2 separate regions of the Homo sapiens genome follow, and region 2 is linked to region 1. The links are contacts of gene promoters, found by promoter capture Hi-C in blood cells and fetal thymus (Javierre and others, 2016). All regions are on one chromosome and are shown on one strand. Each heading gives the region's core, a stretch centred on a gene start or on the middle of the fragment in contact. The rest is flanking DNA. Distances are from core to core; before and after follow the strand shown.

Region 1 (4,006 bases), core at 758-3,257:
CTAACCAATCTTGTAATAACTCTGTGGTAGTTAATTTTATGTCAAATTGATTGAGCTAAAAAATGCCCAGGTAGCTGGTAAAATGTTTTTTTCTGGGTGTGTTAGGGAGGGTGTTTCTGAAAGAGATCAGCACTGGAATCAGCGGACTAAGTAAAGAATTCCCACCCTCACCAATATGGTGGGTGTCATCAATCCACTGAGGGCCTGAATAGAACAAAAAGCGGGCAGAAGGGCAAATTCCCTCTTCTTCTTGAGCTGGGCCATCCATCTTCTCCTGCCCTTGGACACTGGAGCCCCTTGTTCTCCAGCTTTTGGATTCAGACTGGGTCTTGCACCATTGCCCTCCATCTTCTCCTGCCCTTGGACACTGGAGCCCCTTGTTCTCCAGCTTTTGGATTCAGACTGGGTCTTGCACCATTGCCCTCCTTGATGCTCAGGCCTTTGAATGCAGACTGGTCTCCACCAGCAGCTTTTCTGAGTCTCCAGCTTGCAGATGGCAAACCATGAAACTTCATGGTGTCCATGAGCATGTGAACCAATTTCTATTATAAATCTGCAATATATATATATGAGGAGACTTATTTATATATTGGTTCAGTTTCTCTGGAGAGCCTTGGCTAATATAAAGTCTATACTCTACAAAGTGCCCTAGGTACTCAGGGAGTACCCAAGTGTGTCATGACCAGCCCGACAGCCCTGGCTGCTGGCTTCCCCGCACACAACTCTGCACGCTGCCTTCATCAGCCTTTCTCTCTCAGCTGAACCGAGGGCATTGAAGCGGGCCTCTGGCACTGTACCTATGAGGGAGCAATATCTTCCCCTACACTGACCTCTTCCGTGCCGAGATGCAGCCCTCCCTGCTGCCACTAGTTACAGTGGTCCATGTTCCCTTTCAAAGTGAAGTTTTGATAAAAGCACCTCTTAACCAATGCCAAATAGCTAAGTCTGGGACAAAGATTGCAGGTATTTTGCATTTTCCATGTAACCTCAGAGGGATTGCCATTCACACTGATCTGAGCTGCAGAATACCAGGCAGCCACCTCACCCACCCAGCAGGTCCACTCTTATACTTTCTCAGAAAGCACAGCCACTCTACTCTTATTCAGTTGAAAAGAATTTCCAGGAAGGTGTTTCTGCGATTGCCTCAGAAAAGTCAGTTCCCTTTGGGAATTTCCCTTAGGGATCATCTGTAACTCCATTTCTGCCTTTTACCTGAATTCTTTGGTTTGGTTTGAATTCTTTGGTTTAATTTATGAATTCCCTTTATTACTTTTCTCTGAAGAAATGGAGATATCAGCTGTCCCTCCCCACTGCCATTTATTCCTTCCTTCATTCAAACCTTATGTGGCTGCTACTTACCGTGTGTTAAGTGTTCACTTTTTTTCTTGGAATTCAAAAAAAGAAGGACAGTATTTGGGGCACAGATCTTTTGGTGTTCTATACATTTTTTTAAAGTTTCATTTTACATTTGTGTGTGCGTGTGTGTGTGTGTGTGAGACAGTCTTGCTCTGTTGCCCAGGCTGGAGTGCAGTGGCATAATCATTGGCTCACTGTAGCCTCAAAGTCCTGGGCCCAAGCAATCTTCCCACCTCAGCCACCCAAAATGCTGGGGTTACAGGTTTATGCCACTCTGTCTGACCTGAAAGTTTTGGGTTTACTTTCCCTTCTTTCTCTTTGCTGAAGTCAGAGATGATGGCAGCTTCCAGATTCTCTGGTGCCTGTGCTGGGCTCGTGCTGGTCATGGTCTTGGGTCCAGGATTCATTCTGGAGACTCTCAGGGAAGTTTCCCATGACAAGGAAATGTAGGAGAGTGTGCTGGCTTTGCGTGCTCCTCTGCCAAGCCCTGCTTCTCCTGGTGGGACACACTGAACCACAGCCAGGGCATTTTGGTGGTTAGTTAAAAAAAAAAAAAAAAAAAAAAAAAGGAAGAAGAAGGCACTGTGTAATTGTGCCGGGGATCTTCAGAAATTGTAATGATGAAAGAGTGCAAGCTCTCACTTCCCCTTCCTGTACAGGGCAGGTTGTGCAGCTGGAGGCAGAGCAGTCCTCTCTGGGGAGCCTGAAGCAAACATGGATCAAGAAACTGTAGGCAATGTTGTCCTGTTGGCCATCGTCACCCTCATCAGCGTGGTCCAGAATGGTAAGGAAAGCCCTTCACTCAGGGAAGAACAGAAGGGGAGATTTTCTTTGATGGTTGTTTGGAAGTCAGGCTTAAACAATTGTGTCTGTGTGTGCGCATGCACAAACACTTTTACCTTATCTTTATTTTCTTCTTTTTATTTGAATGTATAGGGTTGTGTGTATTTCTGTGTAAATTTGGGGTTTTCCTCCTCTTAGTCTTTCACTTTTGTGGTGATTACCAGTCCCATTTTTAGAGCCAGGGCTGCAACTTGAAGGTTTTGCTAAAACCCTCACCGAAGTGTCTATGATCAGCATTTTAACTATTAATTAATGTGGCCAGGCAAGGGGTGGAAGGTGAGAAGACTAGAAAGGGAACATGATATACACATTTACTCAGATACTGGGCTTTTCTAACATCTGCAGTGCAATTGAAGTTACCAGTCATCTGCAGTCTAAAAAGAAAGTGATTTTGGGAGGTGCGTAGAAAAAATCATCTTATTATTTTTCCTCTATATTACTTTTTTCTTTTTTTCTCCTGAAGAAACTTTTTTTTTTGGTGATACCTTCTTTTTCTCTAGCACGTATAATTTTGGAAGCATTTTTCATATGCAGTGTATACTTCAGAAAGAGAGAGAGAGAGAGGAAAATTGTCCTGTTCAGCGTTTGCATTTCCATTATTCCTGCTATTAGTTAAAAACAACAACAACAACAAAAAACAAGCAGGATACCTAGATCTGGAAAAGGGAGAATTGTGTAGAGCTGTCTTCCTAAAGTTCTGAGTTAGGGCTGCCTCAGACCACTTTCATAACTATCTCCAGTGGCTTTGTGTTTTATATTTATTAAGATAGAGAAAAAAAGAGTAATTACTAAGGGCAGCTGCTGTAGCTTTATGGTGATTACTGAACATTGACATGCTGTCACGTTTTTGGAACTTTGAGTATTTAATCACTTTGGGATATTCTATTTTCCCCCATCTTGAGTGTGGACAGATGCTGGTGATGTAGCCTTCTGGGCACAGAGCAAGCCTCCCCCTCAGCCTCTGCACCAGAAAGGCTCAGCTTCACACACTCCAAGTATGTTTTCTACAAGAACTACACTTTGTGGCTTTCTGACCCAAACATTTTTATACTAAATTACACACAACAAAGTTGTAGCTCAGAGAGGGAACAAATGGCTTATTTAGGCCACCATTTTCTTGAGCCATTATGATTTCACACAGGGCTCCCTTGGCCCTGTAAATTGGCAAGGATTCCATTATTCAACCCGCATACATGTACAGAGACCCTGCTCTGGCCCAGATAGTATTCTGGGTACAGGCGGATAGAGCAGGAAACAAAACAGCTACAGTGATGGACAGGTCAGCCTGCAGCAATGCCTGCAGTCTCTGCAAAGGTAGCTGTATGGGTGGGCAGGTGGCTAGCACTTATTCAGCTCTGGAAGGATCTCCCCTCTGGCCTCTCCCCTGACACCCATCAATAAAACTGAGGAGCATCGGTGGACAGGGGACCTTGTGCCCCCTCCCTGCCTGTGCAGTTGGGGCTGAACCCAGCTACGAAGTTTGAGCTCACTCTCTCCAGCTCCCTCTCAATTCAGAGCTGAACTGTGGGAAGCTTCAGAGCTCTCTGTTTCAAGGACAGGTTCTCCTCACCTCTCCTAATGGAGGTGCACCAGGGAACTGGCCCTGCTCTGCCCAGGGCTTTCTCCTGGACTTTGCCATCATGGTCTAGCAAACCCTGTTCAGATTGAGGTGAGTGGTGAGATTTCGAATTCTTTTTGACAGATAGGATTAAGTCTTCTTCTGTGGGACAAGTGGGAGGTAGAGGTAAGATTAAAGATGGCCAAATGTCTGAGTCCTGACAGCCACAATATGGAGATCTAGACTTTT
Region 2 (4,573 bases), core at 1,412-3,911, 610 kb before region 1:
GCCCTGAGGCAGGGTGGATTCAATGCTGTGTAAGATTCTTTGAACCCAGATTCTGAGGCTGGGTGATTTTGCGGCTGTTCTCAGCTCTCACTGGAGCCGAGGCAGACAGGAAGAAAGAAGGCACACAAGGTTGTAAAAGTCTGAGCGTGCAATGATTAAACCCAGGCACGGATGTGGCTTTGGAGATGGAGAGGAAGGAATGCATTTTTAAAAAGGTTTTGGAGGCTTAAGTAATCGGTCTTTGGCAGCAGCTTGAATTTGGAGAGAGAGCATTTATTAGGTGCCTCCTAAGAGCACTGCCCAGGAGCCATGGGCAAAATAAATATAAGATGGACGATGATCCCCAGGGAGAAAGCAGAGCACACATGTAATCGTTAGGAAATAAGGTTCCAATCATGATTTTTAAAATATGGATAAAAGGGTAGAAACAAAGGGATCAAAGAAGGCTAGATTCACCAGTTTTTGGTTTTGTTTTTGAAGAAGCAGGCTTTGAAAGATGGCCAAATCTAGTGAAGGGAAGAGCAAAAAGCACTTTGGAAAAAGGAGAAAGTGTGACATTAGCAGAGAGGTGCAGGAGGGGCATGAATATCTGGGGTTGAAGCATAACACATGCTGGTGAGGATTGTGTGGACAACAGTAGGGAAGGGTTTGTATCCTCATCGATAAGAGGCCCAGACTCAGATGCCAGGCTTGAAGCTAAAGTTGCAGGTCCAACCATGAGGAAGAGGTTGTGCAGGTGCAAAGCACACAACATGTGCTTGTTGTCACATTCAATTTGAAAGCAGCTGCAGTGTCCCAGAGAGGATCTTGGAGGCCTAGAGGTGGGGAAATGCTTCTTAAACAAAACCTCAAAAGTGCAAAGCATAAGGGAAAAGCTTAATGAATTTGAACACATCCCACTCAAAGGGTTCTATTCAAAGAAGAACAAGGTTATGAGACAGATGAAAGATTGGGAGAAGACACTTGCAATGTCAAAAATAACTAGGAAACAGTATCTAAAATATGCAAGAACCTTGCAAATCAACAAAAATGATGGAAACCCCCTCTGCTCAAAAAACAAAGGCTCAGAAGAGGCAATTTGCAGGAGAGGAAACCCCCCTGAATAACAGGCATGTGAAGAGATGTTTAAACTCATTAGTAGAGAAATACAAATTAAATAGCAATGAGATATCACTTCTATTCACTCAACTGGCCAAAACCAGGAAACTGGATAATGTCAAGTGGTGGTGGGGATGTAGGAATGTTGGAATTCTTGGGCCTTGCTGGGGGTTTGTAGACTGGTACAGCCAATTTGGAGAGCAATACTTCATCAAATTAAATGTACCTGTCTTCTATTTCCCAACAATACCACCCCTGGACATGAATCATAGAAAAAATCCTTCCACACACCCTAAGGGACCATGCACAAAGAGACTTGCTGCAGTTCTTTCTGTGGCAGTAGGTGTCATCCATGGAGGTGGAGGAGCACAAGTGAAAAAGGTACACTCTGAAATACTCTATCAGAGTTGGGAGGAACAGACGACATGTACACGCGGCAACATGAACGGAGCTTTGAAAGGATAGTGTTGAGTCAAGAAATGAGAAGTGATGAGCTAGAGGATGTTTGTGTGCCTTCAACGATATGTGCCTTTAAACACTTTGTTTTTGAGAGAACACATGCTGATAACTACAAACAGGGAACACATTAGAATAGTTGCCTGTGAGGGACAGGAGAAAAGAAATGGGGAATGGAGGCCAATAAAATAAATGCCTGCCTGCACACATGAATGAATGAGATGGGGCTCTGAGGAGCCAATGATCCAGTGCATCATGAACTGAAGAATGTGGTGAACCCAACCATGTGCTTCTAAGAACAAACTAAGCAGAACTCAAGTGCTATATCCATTGCCAAGGCAATTCTAGAACTGAGTGTTAAGTAGATGACTTATGAGCAGAAGTAAAGAAAGTGGTACCATGAAGAGTCTATTATGGGTTATAAACCTAAATATGACACAACATTTTGAATAAATTGTATACAGCTACCAAACTAGCAGGTCAAGGAATTTCGTTAGACATAGGATTGCATTTTTTAGCAAAGCGTTGGCATGATCCCTGTGAAAAGGATGACTACATGTGGGCAGAGTAAGTAGTACCAGATACACAGTAAAGGAACTAAGTCCAGTAAAGCTACCTAGCTTCTCTGTGCTTGAATATCTTTATCCATGAATTTGAGCTTCCAGCTCTAGATAAACTGCTTTCATGATTCCTCTTCTCTTGGGTGTCCCCTAGCCTCAGGGGCATGTAGTGGAACATTCTGTGGTCCAGCCCACAGGAAGCAAGGGCACCAGGGCTGGCTTCCTCACTAACTAGCTGTGGGACCTTGGGGAGTTCACTTAAGTTCTTTGGGCCTGAGTTTTCTCATCTCTAAAATTTAGGTGATTTAGACTGAAAGGTCTCTCAGCTTTATGATTTATGAAATATGAATAAAATAGTCTTAAACTTTTTATTAAGTCATGAACTATAAGCTCAGTTCAAAGAGCTTTTCTTGCTCCTGGACCATTTGAGAATAAGCAGCATAGCCGATCTGCTGCACCAGCCCCCTGAATATTTTCATGCATATTTCCTACAAACAAAGACTTGCATCTACATAGCCACGTGCCACCACCAACATAGGAAATTAATGTTGATGCATTAGAACCCTGGACCCCATTCAAGCCTCATCATTTGGCCCACTCTAGATAAAGGACCCGGTTCTGAATCACTTAGCAGGCTCTGTCTCCTTGGTCTCTTTCAGACTGGAAGTGTTCCTCAGTCTTCTCTTGTCTCTCAAGACCTCCACACTTTGAAGATGACAAGCTAGTTATTTAGTATAATGTCACTCATATTGGGTTTGTGTGACGTTCCCTTGTGATTGCATACAGGTTAGACATCTTCAGAAGAAATCTCACAAATGCAATGCTGTGTTCTCATTGCATCCTATCAGGCGGCAGGAAATTTTGATTTGTCCTATTACTAATAATGTTCACTTTAATCACCTCATTAGATTGGTGTCAGTCATGTTCTCTGGAAGATCACTCATTTCCTCTTTGTTATAATCATTATTTTATGAGGAAGTATTTTTAAACTATAGCTACCAAGTTATAGTTTAAAAATGGCTTAACTACCAAATTATAGTGTCTAATATAATTGTGAGAAAATAAATATCTGTTGTTTAAGCCACTAAATCAGCAGTATGTTGTGAGAGCAGCCCAAGAAGATGAATACATTATTTATTGAAAACTGTGAGATCCCACAAATACCTCCAATTCTAATCCAACTGGAAACTCTAGTTTTCCTCCTTTCCCTGACAGTGAGAAGCTGGATTCCTATTAACCTTAATATATCCCTTCATTTGACCAATCCCCTTGTAGGTGGCCAACCCCCATCCCCACAACCACGCACCCTGCACTCACACTGCCTGTGGGGACACCCACATCAGGCCCGCTTCCCTGGGGAGGTTCGTCCTCCTCTCCCTACTCTGATTCCCACCCTGCCAAGGACAGCCGTCACAGTGCTTGGGCTCCAATAGCCCACCCCACACCAGGCCGGCCTCTGCCTACAAGCCCTCCTTCATTGACTTGTGTGCTCCTAAGCTCACAAAGGAACCTACAACTATAAATACCTTGAAAACTCATAAATATTTTAACTTTACTTCCTAATACTTCCTACTTTAAAAATACCAGCTCCTTCCACCTCCATGGCATCAGATGTTCAGAAATTCTCCTCCTCTGAAAGGACACATGAGGATGGGCAGGAAACCTGAACGAAGGCAGGCAGTCGGTCGTCTCTCCCCTATTCCCTCAAAACTGCAGCTCTGGGGCCCAGCAGCCTCCTGGAGGTCTCCATGTAGACGGTTCATGAGCGCCTTCACTGACATGACCAAGCTGACCTTGGCCATCCTTGTCTCTGTGAGTGGCACCACCATCCACTCGATGACTCATTCCAAAAATCTGAAGTTATTCTTGATTCTCCTCTCTCCCGATAGCCCTTTCCACACGGTATATATTGACTTGACTTCTCAAACATCCTCCGAGCTTTCTCCTCTGTCCATCGCCAGGCTCCTCATGGGGCCTAAGCCACCGTCATCCTCCATCGAACAGCCATGTTCTCCCTGGCTCCTGGGTCCCGCCTGCCTCCCTGGGTGGCCATGTCATGGTTCGCAGCCATGCACCCCTTCATTCTTGCTGAAAGGACTGTCCCTCTCAGCCTCATCCACTTTGGCCTGGGCCTTGGGACTTGCTTTGGTTGCGGGTGGCAGGGCTCGTGGGCCCTGGTTCCACCTGTGTCAGGGGCTCCCCCTTCAGCCTGGTCCTGGGGAGAGAAGGCAGCTGGAGCACAGCAGGGCCCTTGGCTCTCCAGAAATGTGAGCAAGAACTCACATGTGAACCATGGTAGGCTTTGGTAAACCTGGGGACGTATCTTCCCATGGCAAAGCTTATTAATAAGTCCCCTAAAATCTATTCCCCACAGTAGCCACTAGTTATGTTCAAAAAGTAAATTCTGCCATGTCTTTCCCTTGCTTTGCACCCACCGTGGCTGCTGCAGTTCTCTGAGT

What was found. Contacts are between HindIII fragments. The CHiCAGO score rates a contact against its expected background, and 5 or more counts as called.
Region 2: a contact is called between a fragment that was not itself captured here and the fragment with the promoter of ALOX5AP in region 1, in 1 of 17 cell types (fetal thymus). The highest score is 5.0, in fetal thymus.

Annotation. Positions count from the first base shown.
Region 1 is chr13:30,733,536-30,737,541 of GRCh38, forward strand. It overlaps ALOX5AP (arachidonate 5-lipoxygenase activating protein), which reads left to right and starts at 2,008. Exons shown (of 5, transcript NM_001629.4): 1 at 2,008-2,140. The coding sequence starts at 2,071. The region is part of intron 2 of LOC124903146 (a long non-coding RNA gene); the gene reads right to left. The HindIII fragment of the contact is 8,013 bases long and covers 1-3,729 here.
Region 2 is chr13:30,119,560-30,124,132 of GRCh38, forward strand. No RefSeq gene overlaps it. Among named protein-coding and RNA genes, the nearest start is that of LINC00365, 13 kb to the left of the region's middle. The HindIII fragment of the contact is 3,577 bases long and covers 874-4,450 here.